5 separate regions of the Homo sapiens genome follow, and all the other regions are linked to region 2. The links are contacts of gene promoters, found by promoter capture Hi-C in blood cells and fetal thymus (Javierre and others, 2016). All regions are on one chromosome and are shown on one strand. Each heading gives the region's core, a stretch centred on a gene start or on the middle of the fragment in contact. The rest is flanking DNA. Distances are from core to core; before and after follow the strand shown. Region 1 overlaps CDK20 (cyclin dependent kinase 20). Region 2 holds the start of NAA35 (N-alpha-acetyltransferase 35, NatC auxiliary subunit). Region 3 overlaps UBQLN1 (ubiquilin 1). Region 4 has its middle 5.1 kb from the start of SPIN1. Region 5 overlaps UBQLN1 (ubiquilin 1).

Region 1 (2,740 bases), core at 129-2,628, 2.0 Mb after region 2:
CTATGCTGAGACTGACCCGATGTACAATGTTGTTGGCATGGCAGAAGGCGACACCCTTGAGCAGCATCTGCAGGTAGCTCTTGACCTGTGCCTGGGCTAGTGGCCTCTGGGCATGGCGCACCACCTCGGCCAGATCCGACAGCATGAACTCAAAGGCCAGCACAAAGCCTCCACCGTGTGGGAACACAGCCTTCAGTTGTACCACCTGTGGGCAGGACATCTTGTTAGCCCCCAGACTCAAGTCACCAGACCCTCTCTGTGACCCTGAGACCCCAGCCCATGCCCTGACAGAGGACCCTGTATCCAAAAAGACAGTAAGCAAAGAAGGTGACGTGGACCTGAGCTAAGAATCAGAGAGCTCGATGCTCATGATTTGCTCTGCTCTCCTGAGATAAGGTGTGCCCCCACTCTAATTCTCCATGAACACTAAAAGGTCTAAAAAAGGTCATTTAGTGGCACCATCTGGTCCGCCCACCCAGCCTACCCGCCTGAAAATCATCTGGATGGTCACACATGAGATGGACAGGTCTCCTCCTGTTTCCTCTAGAACCACCGAATCCCAGCACCAAGGAAAGGACACCAGGAATCCCACCTTTCCCAGTGCTGGGACAGCTACAGACACATCACAAACACTGAGGCCAGTACTGTCAGAGGAGCCAGGCTACACAGAGAGTGAGCTGAGAGACAGGACTCTTAATGAACTCACAGCACAAAGGACAAACAGTTTAACAAATAAATGAATAAAAGGGATATATTCAGATTCTGTAAGTACAGGAACCAAAATACAAGGGGGCTGGGCATGACGTCTCATGCCCGTAATCCCAGTACTTTGAGAGGCCAAGGTGGGCGGATGGCTTGAACCCAGGTGTTTGAGACCAGCCTGGGCAACATGGTGAAACCTTGTCTCTACAAAAAATACAAAAAACTAGCCAGGCATGGTGACACGTGCCTGTAGTCCTAGCTACTTGGGAAGCTGAGGTGGGAGGATCACCTGAGCCCAGGAGGTTGAGACTACAGGGAGACAAAATCGCACTTCTACACTCCAGCCTGGGTGACAGAGTGAGACCCTGTATCAAAAAAAGAAAAAAAATCAACAGAACTAGAAGAGGATAGTGTGATTCTGTGAGTGGAGAAAAGGATACTTCTTTATTTAGGTGGGGTGGGGCTAGATGAGGACCCAGTTTGTGGGGATCTGGGATAAAGCTCTGAGCAGGAAGAAAAGCAAGTGCAAGGCCCTAACGCCAGCACAGAAGGAGGCTAGAGGGATGTGAGTACATGAGATTGTTTAAGGGAAGGATGTGTCTGCCTTGTTCTGTGCTCCTGGACCCTAGATAGGTGCTGGTCACTGGAGAGATGCCTAAGAAGTTGTGTTGAATGAGAGAAAAGGGAGAGGCCAGCTGGAGGTGGGCACATGGTGATAGTGCTCTAAGTGTGAAGAGAAGCCACCAGGGCTTTTTACGCAGGGGAGCCGATGACTTAACTTACACTTTTGACAAAGCCCTCCGGACTGTGGCTATGGAGAGCAGTGGGGAGGCTGCCACTGTCATTCTGATGAGTGGTGATGATGACTTGGGCAAGGAGCAAATCTAGAGTATGTTTTAAAGTTAGAACCTTCAGAATTGCTGACCAACTGGATGTAGGGACCATATCACCAGCTTCCTTATGGATCTCTCCACCTATCCCACACATGGCTGTCTGGAAGCCCTTTTATCTTCCTCAAAAAATCAAAATGGCCTGATTGCTGTTTTCGGATTTTTCAGGTAGTACACAACCATTTAACAGATCAAAACACATGCACACATTCAGGTAAGACATAAAATCCAACAGAAAAAGAACAAAAGAAAAATCCTACAGTCAATCTTAGAGTGTATTCTACCAGACTTTACAACAGATATGGCACACACAAATACACATTCACATATATAATATTTCCAAACAAAACCCAGATGACACAAAATTTTATAACATGCTTTTGTCATCCAATATATCATGCATATCTCCAGATCACAGAGACCCAACCCTGTTAACTCTCCAGGGAGTCAAATACATTCCCTATTTCGACATGGGTGAGAGAGAGCACCAAAAGAGTAATGACACTAGGGGTGAAAGATGCCCCTCTTCGTGTTCCAGCAGCCCCTCCCGGTACCCTATCACAGCACGAACCACACTAGGTGGGCCCTGTTGCCTCTGTCTCTTGTTAGCACACTTAAGTCCTCAGGAGCTGGGCTGGAGCTGGTTTCTCTGTGTCACCAGTGCCCAACACAGGGTAGAGCCTATGGGAGGTCCCAAGGGAAGAATGGACTCTCAATCAAACCTGGGCCAAACCCTCTACTGACTAACGGAGGGCCCAAGAGCTGGTGACATAACCTCCTCCTCTCACCTGAGAAACAGAGATCTGGAAACCTGCCTTGTACAGTAGTAAAGAGGTCTCAAAATGACAATGTATATAATGCCTGCAGAACACATCGGGAGCTCAATAGGTGCTAGTTACATTATAAATCACTACATGTTTTGAGAAAAAAAGTCGGTGAATGAATGAATACATTAAGAAATAAGTAGGCAAATGAGAGTGAATGTGTGAGAAATGAAAGAAATAGGTAAATAAAGGTGAACAAGTGGACAAAAAAGGGCAAAAGGGGGTAAGGAGGCAGATGAATGAGCAGTGTGTGTGAGTGACAGCGGGAGGAAATCCCTGAAAGCTGGTGAAGGCGTAGCTGGGAAAATGAAGGCACAAAGAAGT
Region 2 (2,700 bases), core at 169-2,668:
ACAGGATTTCACCATATTGGTCAGGCTAGTCTCCAACCCGACCTCTCCACTGCCAGCCTCCCAAAGTGTTGGGATTACACGCATGAGCTACCAGCTACCAAGCTCAGCCTGATTTCTTTTACTCAATATATTTTTGAAATTCATTCATGTTGTATGTCAAGTAGTTTATCCCTGTTTATTGATAATTACATTCATTACATTGTATGGATATGCCACAAATTGTTTTTATTCAACAGTTGATGGACATTTGGGTTGTCTGTAGTTTTTGATGATTAAAAACAAAGCTGGGCCAGGCACGGTGGCTCATACCTGTAATCCCAGCACTCTGGGAGGCTGAGGTGGGCAGATCACGAGGTCAGGAGTTTGAGATCAGCCTGACCAACATGGTGAAACCCCATCTCTACTAAAAATACAAAAAACAGCCTGGTGTGGGGGCAGGCGCCTGTAATCCCAGCTACTCGGGAGACTGAGGCACGAGAATTGCTTGAACCTGAAAGGCAGAGGTTGCAATGAGCCGAGATCAGGTCACTGCACTCTAGCAGGGGCGACAAGAGTGACACTCTGTCTCAAACAAAAACAAAAACAAAGCAAAACAAAGCTGGTATGAACATTAACGTACAAGCCTTTGTATGAATATGTTTTTGTTCCTAAGTAAATTCGTAGATTACTGGATCGAATGATAAGTATATGATTATAAGGAGAGATTGTTAAGTTTTCCAAAGTGGTTGTACCATTTTGCATTACCACCACCAACATAACAGAGGTCCAGTTGCTCTGCATCCTTGCCAACATTTGGTATTATCTTTTCCATCTTTTAATTTTGGGCCATCCTAAAGAACAGGTGGTGATAAAGATGTGCTTCTTACCTGCGCCCGTCTATTTATGTAACCCCATTTAAAAACTGATCATTTTATTAATAAATTAAAAAAATCTAAAACATATAAGAATCTGAAATTAAATGTCTGGCTTGACTTTGCAGATATTTTGAATCTATGTTTCCTCACGAAACTCCCAGGCGCTGTATAGGAAACATAAATCCGTTGTCAGGCAGCAGTAGCACGCTGTTGCTCTCGGAGCTTGGCTGCTCGTTCGTGCTCGCAACCACTAAGGTCTACGCAAACCTCCACGGTTTCCTTCCGCCTTCGCGTCACCTTTCTAAGAAATTCCCAGAGGGCAGCGCAGACGGGGCGGGCTCTGAGACTCCGGGCTCCGCCTCTTTCCGGGAACCGCCCACTACCCAGGACTCCGACAGAGGGTGAAAAAAGATAACTTCCGGTCTCGCGATCGTCTCTAATCTCGCGAGAAGAGAAGGCGGCCGCCATCGGCCGAACGGAGGCGGTGGCGAGGGAGGGGGTGTGGCCGGGGAGCGCGAAGTCCCCGGGAGTAAGGGAGAGGGGGCGGGGTCGCGCGTCCCGGGCATACGCATGCGTGCACGCTGCCGGTCGGGCTGGGCTGAGAGGGGAGGGGGCGGCGGCGGCCGAGGCGGCGTCGTTATTTCCGTGGTCCGGACAGTGCGTGGCGGCGCGGGTGACCACGGGAGAAGTAGGTAGGGACCGCCCCTGCGTAGCCATTGAAACCCTCTCGCTCGTGTGTCCGAGAGCCGCAGCCCCCCGCGCGTGTGGCAGATCCTGGGGACCCCAGGTCACCCTGCGGCCCCGGCCCTCCCGCTGCGCGTCAGGTAGGAGCGGCGGGCTCCCCAGTGCCCGCTGTCGGCCGAGGCCCCACTCTTGCCCGGTGTTGCCGAGGCGACGACCCGGCGCCGGACGTGCCCGCCCTCCCGCGCGGCGACAGCTCTGTCCTTGCTTATGCGCCCAGTGGGACCGGGGCTGGGCTGGGCTGACCCGGGCAGGGCGGAAGGGAAGCGTGTGCCCGCCTCAGGTGTGCCTCGGCCCTAGGCCCGGCCGGCGGGACCCTGCGGTGCCTGCCGGCTCCTCATTGCTCCCGGCGAGGTTCTGCCTGGGTCCGGGCCGGCTCTGGCCCGGGAGAGGTCCCAGCGAGCTCTGGCCAGATGAAGGGCTACCTTGATTGACTTCGGTAGCTGCCGCATGGGGTCCTGGGCTGCGAGAGGGGACCCTGAATAGTGCCTTGGTCTTTTGTGGCTATTATTGAAAGTTGGAAGCTCTGGAGTTGTTCTTTTCGGGCCAGAGGTGAGATGGTTTGTGATTTTTCTTCTTAAACAGTAGGAAGGCAAAATGTTTATGGGCCCTGGTAGGTGGTGGGCTAATAGTAAGCAGCAGGAGTGTTAATTGACGTGCGATTTGATTGCATTAAGGTTATTCTTTGCAGTACTGTCCTTAGACTCAGAAGAGTTCTGCTTTAAAGAGTTTAGTTAAGACTTCATCCTATGCTGAAACAAACACCCATTTCTGCAAATACTCTTGCCCTGAAAGCTACATCCTCTCTCTTACATCAGTATTAATTTTACAGGCATAATGGTTATGAAAGCTTCTGTAGATGATGACGATTCAGGATGGGAGCTCAGTATGCCAGAAAAAATGGAGAAAAGCAATACAAACTGGGTGGACATTACCCAAGATTTTGAAGAAGCTTGTCGAGGTGAGTCTGATTTTTGGATTAGAAGTTCAGCATCTGGAAGGGGTAGAATGACGATTGTGCTTTCTAAACTTACCTCATTAGATGAAATCAACAGGTAAATGTGGTTTGTTGAGTTTGTTAGCCACACTTATTCTGTATCCTCTA
Region 3 (2,799 bases), core at 266-2,765, 2.3 Mb before region 2:
AGACTACTTGAACCCAGGAGGCGGAGGTTGTAGTGAGCCAAGATTGCGCCACTGCACTCCAGCCTGGGTGACAGAGAGAGACTCTTGAAAAACAAACAAACAAACAAACAAAAAAACCCACAACTTTTTTATCTATCCCCTTCTAGTTCTTGAGGGTTATGAGCCAGTTTTACTCTGGCCCTTGAAATTCTTGAAAACAATAAAAAGCGAGAGACTTCACCAAAAGAAAGCCAACAAATCAATATGATTAATAATTATTACTTTATTTATTTATTTTTTTAAAGACAGAGTCTTGCTCTGTCACCCAGGCTGGAGGTGCAGTGGCATGATCTCGGCTCACTGTAACCTCCACCTCCCAGGTTCAAGCGATTCTCCTGCCTCAGCCTCCCGAGTAGCTGGGACTACAGGTGCACACCACTGTGCTGGGCAATTTTTTGTATTTTTAGTAGAGACAGCGTTTCACCATGTTTACCACGCTGCTCTGGAACTCCTGACCTCAGGTGATCTGCCCACCTCACCCTCCCAAAGTGCTCAGATTTCAGGTGTGAGCCACCGCGCCTGGCCTGATTATTACTTAGTATTATCTCTAAAAGGAAATAAGCCAGACAAGGTGGCTCACACCTGTAATCCCAGCACTTTGGGAGGCCAAGGCTGGTGGATCACCTGAGTTCAGGAGTTCGTGACCAGCCTGGCCAACATGAGGAAACCCCGTCTCTATCAAAAATACAAAATTAGCCGGGCGTGGTGGCGCATGCCTGTAATTCCAGCTACTTGGGAGGCTGAGGCGGGAGAATCGCTTGAACCCAGAGGCAGACGTTGCAGTGAGCTGAGATCGCACCGTTGCACTCCAGCCTGGGCAACAAGAGTGAAATTCCGTCTCAAAAAAAAAAAAAAAAAAGTAAGGAAATAAAAAAAACCCTTCCAGATGATACCAGATAAGAGTTTTGAATGCCACTCATTGCTTCTTTCCCTGAATTTAGCTAAGGCACACATTTTTCTATTTTAACATCTCCGAAATCAGGATCTGTCTTACAATTGCTGACAGCCAGGCATCAACTACATGCCTGCACATGTAGTCTACATGACTTCAACTGAATGCCTGGGTACACTGTTGTATCATATGTAACGGGCTTAATTACCACATTAAGTGTCTTCAAAATAATTACACTATTAATTGGCACTGACAGAAGTTACCATGTATTCAGAATAGCACCAAAATAGAAGGAATATGTTGAATGAGTAAAGCAAGTATTTGCTGTTGGTAAACAACAGCATAAAAACTTACAGGAGTGTTAATGGCTTGGAACAAAATCCTGGAGAAAATACTGGAGAGCTCTTTTAAGCAATGCTACACCACCAACACTCTTGACAGAACAGAGTTTGATACTGTATGAAAAAATATGGACACTGACAACTAAGTCTTCGTATGTTATGCAAGAGTGATATGATAAAATTCCATACCCATGTAAGTCTAAAGGAGCTCTTTCACTAAGTATAAAATAAACATTTTAAGTGACAAGAAAACATCAATTCAGTTAGCAGTATTCTTTCTTAGTGATACACAAAGGTATCTCTTTAAAACTGGTGGTGCCAGCTGGACACTGTGGCACGCACCTACAGTCCCAGGCTGACATGGGAGCATCACTTGAGCCCAGCCTGGGCAACATGGCATGACTCTGTCTCTTAAAAAAAAAAAAAAAAAAGTTCCTTAGACTTAAAGAAATATGATTATCAATTCGTGGTTTGCTAAGGAGATAAGTTACTCATGATCTTTGTCTAAAAATTTCCTTACTAAAAGAAAAGCTAAAAACTTGCCTGTTCTAATGCAAATAATTTAGGTATAATAACTAAATACCAATGAACCTTGTAAAATATGAAATGGTTATCTGACAATCACGTAAGCATTAACATGGAATCACACTTTTTAAAAAAATTGTTATCGACAGCAAGGAAAGAATTTTAACTATTTAAATATTAATGACAGGGAAAGTAATTTACAGCCAACACTAGTTACTTTTAGAAGTACGAACATTTATCCACAATTTTAAAGCTGTACATCTTCCAAAACCATACCTGTTTTGTGTTTTAATGACAAGGTGAACAGTAAGTCCATCATGAATTCCATGCTGACTCAAGGTATCTTGATCTTTCAAAATTTTTCCAGCAAATATCAACACAAGTTGGTCAGTATGTGATTTAAAACGTTTAGAGATTTCTTCCTTAAACTAAATAAAAATAAAATAAGTATGTATTACAGTTGTTTGCACAGCACCATACAGTCTAGTTTCTACAGGTACCTCATAGAGGCCCCTACTACAGACGCTACAATTCAAACACCATAATCCCAATGTTCCAGGAGGCTGAGGCAGGAGGACTGCCTGAGTCCAGGAGTTCGAGGCTGCAGTGAGCTATTATCACACCACTGCACTCCAGCCTGGGTGACAGAGTGATATCCCGCCTCTAAAAACAAAACAAAACAAAAAATCCCCAATTCAAAACAATACAGAGATGCATCCTTTTTATGTCAGTATCTTGATGTTAGTAAGAAATGATTATTACTTCATCTCTAACACAAAGGTCCTACTATAGGTGCACATATCCTATATTCGATCCTCTGCTAAGGCCTAACAATGCATTGCTTCCCAATATCCTTATTCTTTTTATGTTAATGAGACCAAATTTAGTTCGAGCCACAGTTAGCTCTTACCACGTCCAAAATAATCCATTCCTCAGACTTCTATCTTCAGTCCTGTTCCTTTCTTTCTAGTTGAATACAGTATACACAGCCAATCTCATATT
Region 4 (2,740 bases), core at 19-2,518, 2.4 Mb after region 2:
CTCTGTTAAACTTATCTTGTCTGATATTCTTCTTTATCAGGAAGAAGCTTTGGTGTCGAGTCCAGTAGTCGGAGGCTTCCTGAGAAGTAAACTAAACAGGCCCCCACCATTCAAGACTCACACTCTAGCAAGGTGATGGGATAGTGGGAGAAAGGGTCAGAGGATGGGGGCTGGGCCTAAGACTGGGTGTGGCTCCTCCACAGACCACCTGGGTTTGTTTTTTTTAAACCAATTACTTCCCATGGAAGAATAACTTCTGTATTGAAGTTGTAGCGTGAACATGGGGAAGCCATCCACAGAGACTCTAAACCATCAATAAGCCCTGAGCCGGTATGGAACTTGCCCAAGCTGGTATGGAACTCCTGGGTTCAAACAATACTCCTGCCCAGGCCTCCCAAAGTGCTGGGATTACAGGCGTGAGAGCCACAGTGCCCACCCTTATAGTGTCTTTATTGACCCCCTACTCTCACCAGACTTTTGTCTAGGCAGTGGAGATACGGCAAAGGATAGAGCAAAGGATGTATGCTGGGAGCTTATAAGACTATGATAATGTGACAGAGGGCTAGAGGAGGGATGGAGCATGCTCCCACCCTTGCCAGCCTCCTGGAACCCAGGTGAGCAGACAACACCCAGAGAGGCTCCCAGCAGGGCTGTGTGTGCTCAGTTTGTTTCTGACCCTGTCTCTGTTTGTGCTTTCCTTATTTGTTCCCCTCCTCTGGTCCTAATGCTGACCATCCAGGCAGGTGCTGGTGACTTCGGTTCTGACCGACAGCCTGGATGGACACCACACTTCCTCACGTGGAGCCTGTATCAGTTGTGGCTCTCAGTCAGAGATCTGGCCCCAGTGCCTCATCACATCCAACACAGAAGAGCTGCCTCTGTCTCAGTGAGGCCACCATCTTATCAGGATTCACATGTTAGGTGTCTTAGTCTATTTTCTGTTGCTTGAAACTGGGTAATTTATAAAGAAAGGAAGTTTCCTTTTTTCTTTTTTTTTGAGATGGAGTTTCACTTTGTTGCCTAGGCTGGAGTGCAGTGGCATGATCTCGACTCACTGCAACCTCCATCTCCCGGGTTCAAGCGATTCTTGTGCCTCACACTCCCAAATAGCTGGGACTACAAGCATGTGCCACCATGCCCAGATAATTTTTGTATTTTTAGTAGAGACGGGGTTTCACCATGTTGGCCAGGCTAGTCTCCAACTCCTGACCTCAGGTGATCCGCCCTCCTTCGCCTCCCAAAGTGCTGGGATTATAGGCATGAGCCAGCATGCCCGGCCACAAGGGAAATTTATTTCTTACAGTTATGGAGGCTGGGAAGTCCAAGCTCAAGAGGGCCTTCTTGCTAGTGGGGACTCTCTGCAGAGTCCTGAGACTGTGCAGGGCATCACATGGAGAGGGGGCTGAGTGAGCTCACTTGCTAGCTCAGGTCTCTCTTCCTCTTATAAAACCATCAGTTCCACTTTCATAACAACCCATTAATCCACTAATCCATGTATGGACTATACCTCTTAAAAGCCCCACCTCTCAATATTGCCACACTGGGGGCTATATTTCAACATGAGTTTGGAGGAGATAAACACTCAAACCATAGCATTTAGAGCTGCCTAATCAGCACATCCATAAATCTATAGCCATGAGTGTGAGTGGGAGAACCAGCATGAACCTCAATCATATTAAGGGCCAACATGTTAATATTCACTCAACGGGAGAACCTGAGCAGTCCTAGCTGGATGACCGCTGCCTGACCCATCTGTGTATGACACAGGCAACCACTGGGGAGACAGCATCCTTTCCTAAAGGTGGATCTTCAAGCTCACCCACCTAGAGGTTAAGCCAATCAAATAATTATCCATGTACTTGGGGTATATATTGGATACTGAATACTTTTCGCTGTGTTGAATAATTCTATAATAAATATACTAATTTGAAAAGGATCCCTAGGGTCAGTTTCCAATTATTACATCAATGCCAGTGGGGTGAACATATCAAGGTTCACCGTAGATATAACCACCCCTCATGCCTTTGGTATCTCTTCCTTCTTCCACTCCAAATCACAAGCATATTCATCCTTGGGGCAGAAATCCTCCCAAGTAGGAGCCCAGGAACCCAGAGTTAAAAGACATATACATCTAGTATAGGCCAAGGCTTTTATTTATTTATTTATTTTTGAGACGGAGTTTCGCTCTTATTGCCCAGGCTGGAGTGCAACGGCGCGATCTCGGCTCACTGCAACCTCTGCCTCCCAGGTTCAAGCGATTCTTCTGTCTCAGCCTCCCGAGTAGCTGGGATTACAGGCGCCTGCCACCAAGCCCGGCTAATTTTTTTGTATTTTTAGTAGAGAAGGGGTTTCACCGTGTTGGTCAGGCTGGTCTCGAACTCCTGACCTCAGGTGATCTGCCCACCTCTGCCTCTCAAAGTGTTGGGATTATAGGCATGAGCCACCGCGCCCAGCCGGCCAAGGTTTTTAACATGCCAATTTGTATTTAATAAGCTTGCTATAGGAGGAAAAATATATGTAGAACCTTTGATCCAATCTCTAGAAGTTGAGTATGGTTGAGAAACTGCAAAGAAATTAACTATATGCCAGGGTTGGTGGTGCATGCTTGTAGCCCCAGCTATTCAGGAAGCCAAGGTGAAGGATGGACAGTTCAAGCCAGGCCTGGGCGAAATAGCAAGACTCCTTCTCCAAAATATAACAAAAGCAAAATAAAAGAAATTTGCTATATAGGTAAGTTTCT
Region 5 (2,700 bases), core at 41-2,540, 2.3 Mb before region 2:
ATATCCTAAGGTCCTGCAAAACCAGAAGCCAGTCCGTAAATCAGTTACATTTTAATATAAGCTAAGCCATCTTCTTAAAATAAGCCCTTTTGGCCTGGTGCAGTGGCTCATTCTGGGAGACCGATGATCCCAGCAGCCCAGGAATTTGAGATCAGCTTAGGCAACATTGTTGAGACTTCATCTCTACAAAAAATAAAAACAAAATTAGCTGGGTGTGCTGGTGCACACCTGTAGTATCAGTTACTTGGCAGGCTGAGGTAAGAGGATTGCTTTAGCCCAGGAGGTAGAGGCTGAAGTGAGCTGAGATCGCGCCACTGCACTCCAGTCTGCTCGATGGAGTGAGACTATCTCTAAAAGGAATTTAAAAAATAATAATAATCATTTTTAACTTTGAAAACCCTGACTTAAAAACAATCATAGCCAGGCACTGTGTCCCAACTACTGGGGAGGCTGAGGTGGGAGGATCACCTGAGCTTAGAAGTTCAAGTTCAGCCAGGGTAAAAGAGCAAAAACCGATCTCTTAATAAATAAATAAGTAAATAAATAAATAAAAACGGTGGGGGAGAACCAGGTGCTATGGCTCATGTCTCTGATCCCACTTTGGGAGGCCAAATCTCTTGAGCCCAGAAGTTTGAGACCAGCCTGGATAACATGGCAAAGCTCCATCTCTAAAAACAGTAACAACAACAAATTATATATATAAATTAGCTAGGTGTGGTGGTGCACACCTGTAGTCCCAGCTACTTGGGAGGCTGAGGTGAGAGAATCCCTTGAGCCCGAGAGGTCGAGGCTGCAGTGAGCCACAACTGCGCCCCCACACTCATAGCCTAGGCGAAGGGCGAGACCCTGTATCCCACCAAAAAAAAAAAAAAAAAAAAAAAGGCAGGCAGAATAATACTAAATCTGAAATTCTCAGAGAAAGTAACCATTATACACTTTCATTATCTTCCCCAAATAAGCCTACCCTGGGATGAGGCCCGGGGCTTCCGTTGCTAATGTCTGTAAACCCTGCTGAATCTGTAACAAGGCCTGCATTGCTCTAGGGTTTGACATTGCTGATAGTGTATCAGGATTCTGCATCTAAGGAAGAAAGAAAACTAGTGGTTACAAAGGAATTAAAATCAGTGAACGTAAATTTTTAAATCTTTTCTCTGTTATGCTTCTGGAGAAAATCTAAAACCTTACTCCTGGACACTGGTAATCCATAATTTCTTTCCCAAAATAAACGCAAGTATCTCCTCTTTGACAGCAAACCTAGTGTGCAAATTATTACTTGACCTCCTCCTAAGTCCATCATGAAAGCCATTTCCATAATGGAAGAAAATCAGGAGCTACTTTGGAAGCCACAACTATTCCCCTTCTCCAACAGAAGATAAAGTATTACTTCTAAGACACAACCTCCAAAGGCACAATTCTTACGACGTGGATATGGTAAAAAGCCACATATTCCACCTAACCAAGTGTTATCTGTTACTAATATAACAATTTTACCAGTAAGGTACACTCTAAAACAACAGTTCCAAATTTGACGTTAATACATGTATCCTGAGTTTAGCTTTACTACTTCCAAATATACACCACCTGACTAACCAAAGATAGGCTTACATCATTACAATAGATCAAGGACACCAACCTTGGAAAATGGTTTACAGGTCTGAGAGTCATTTGCATAATACATGAGGCCCTAGAACTACCAGTTTCAAAACACCAAGACTGACTTCTCTTTTGTCGTTTTAAATAATAAAATACCATGGCAATCTCAAGTACTCGTTTATACTATAACCTTCCTTACTTCCTTATATGACAACACTGACTATTTTAATCTTACTAATCCCGAGTTTGAGGAAATGAGATCTACCCCTTGGGGAAAAAAAGCCTTCTACTAATTTGGAAGAAAACCTATAAAATAGAATAGGGTAGCTCTTTCCTGTTACTCAAAATTAGTTAAACCATAAAGCGTAACATGACACAAGGAAGCACTTCAAAGTTAGTACAATGAAAGGAAATGGTTTATGGTATTAACAAAGCATTCAAAATCCTAGGTCCTCAAAAGCAAAAACAAAATGTTCTTTCCTCAGAATGTATGTTTAAGAAACATAAGCAAAAGGTCAGCAGTGAAATGGGACTCAGTGAAGATCAAGCTGAATTCTCTACGAATTGACAGCATTATTGGTCTCTATTCTATGTTTTGCTATCAGCCAGAGAAGAGCAAGGAAAAATGTTTATCATCAAATTTTTTCAAGCAAATCATTACCCAAGATAGCTAACATCTTGTCTTACTCACTTGTTGGAGGAAAGTTGGGAGCTGTTGTCTCATTTGTTCTTGAAGCTGAGGATTTCCAGCAAATAGGGGATTATTCAGCATCATCTATGGGGCAAGTGTTCAAACAATTTTAACTGGAAATATCTGAAACAAGTAATGTACCTTGTTTTATTCTATCTTCCCCCAAGTGCCTCAGCTGGCACTTAAAAGGGAGGAAGGTAGAACATAAATAAAAAAAGGAAAAGGGAAGATACTGTCCACAAGAGGGATCTCCAGAAGAACAAAAACAAAAAAATGAGGCATATTCTCTCTCAATGAGAATGGTGGTTATGATAATGACATGCAATATCCTAAAAAATAAAAGCAATCATTTTCTTAGGCTTTTCCTTGAACAAACGTGAATATATGCCATTGAAAGAAAAATGGGAGTAACTGGC

What was found. Contacts are between HindIII fragments. The CHiCAGO score rates a contact against its expected background, and 5 or more counts as called.
Region 1: a fragment that was not itself captured here is called in contact with the fragment with the promoter of NAA35 in region 2 in 5 of 17 cell types (fetal thymus, total CD8 T cells, naive CD8 T cells and 2 more); the score reaches 9.9 in fetal thymus.
Region 3: a contact is called between a fragment that was not itself captured here and the fragment with the promoter of NAA35 in region 2, in 1 of 17 cell types (non-activated CD4 T cells). The highest score is 5.7, in non-activated CD4 T cells.
Region 4: a fragment that was not itself captured here is called in contact with the fragment with the promoter of NAA35 in region 2 in 1 of 17 cell types (total B cells); the score reaches 5.1 in total B cells.
Region 5: a contact is called between a fragment that was not itself captured here and the fragment with the promoter of NAA35 in region 2, in 1 of 17 cell types (non-activated CD4 T cells). The highest score is 5.7, in non-activated CD4 T cells.

What each region holds. Positions count from the first base shown.
Region 1 is chr9:87,971,131-87,973,870 of GRCh38, forward strand. CDK20 (cyclin dependent kinase 20) reads right to left here. Exons shown (of 8, transcript NM_001039803.3): 3 at 17-205. Among named protein-coding and RNA genes, the nearest start is that of CDK20, 2.0 kb to the right of the region's middle. The HindIII fragment of the contact is 4,347 bases long and covers 1-2,740 here.
Region 2 is chr9:85,939,728-85,942,427 of GRCh38, forward strand. NAA35 (N-alpha-acetyltransferase 35, NatC auxiliary subunit) reads left to right here and starts at 1,419. Exons shown (of 23, transcript NM_024635.4): 1 at 1,419-1,546; 2 at 2,428-2,556. The coding sequence starts at 2,433. RefSeq lists a silencer at 1,323-2,002. The HindIII fragment of the contact is 5,629 bases long and covers 1-2,443 here.
Region 3 is chr9:83,683,931-83,686,729 of GRCh38, forward strand. UBQLN1 (ubiquilin 1) reads right to left here. Exons shown (of 11, transcript NM_013438.5): 2 at 2,074-2,225. Among named protein-coding and RNA genes, the nearest start is that of UBQLN1-AS1, 23 kb to the right of the region's middle. The HindIII fragment of the contact is 3,472 bases long and covers 1-2,799 here.
Region 4 is chr9:88,381,992-88,384,731 of GRCh38, forward strand. No RefSeq gene overlaps it. Among named protein-coding and RNA genes, the nearest start is that of SPIN1, 5.1 kb to the right of the region's middle. The HindIII fragment of the contact is 2,446 bases long and covers 46-2,491 here.
Region 5 is chr9:83,664,066-83,666,765 of GRCh38, forward strand. It overlaps UBQLN1 (ubiquilin 1), which reads right to left. Exons shown (of 11, transcript NM_013438.5): 8 at 2,285-2,368; 9 at 965-1,080. Among named protein-coding and RNA genes, the nearest start is that of IDNK, 42 kb to the left of the region's middle. The HindIII fragment of the contact is 5,914 bases long and covers 1-2,700 here.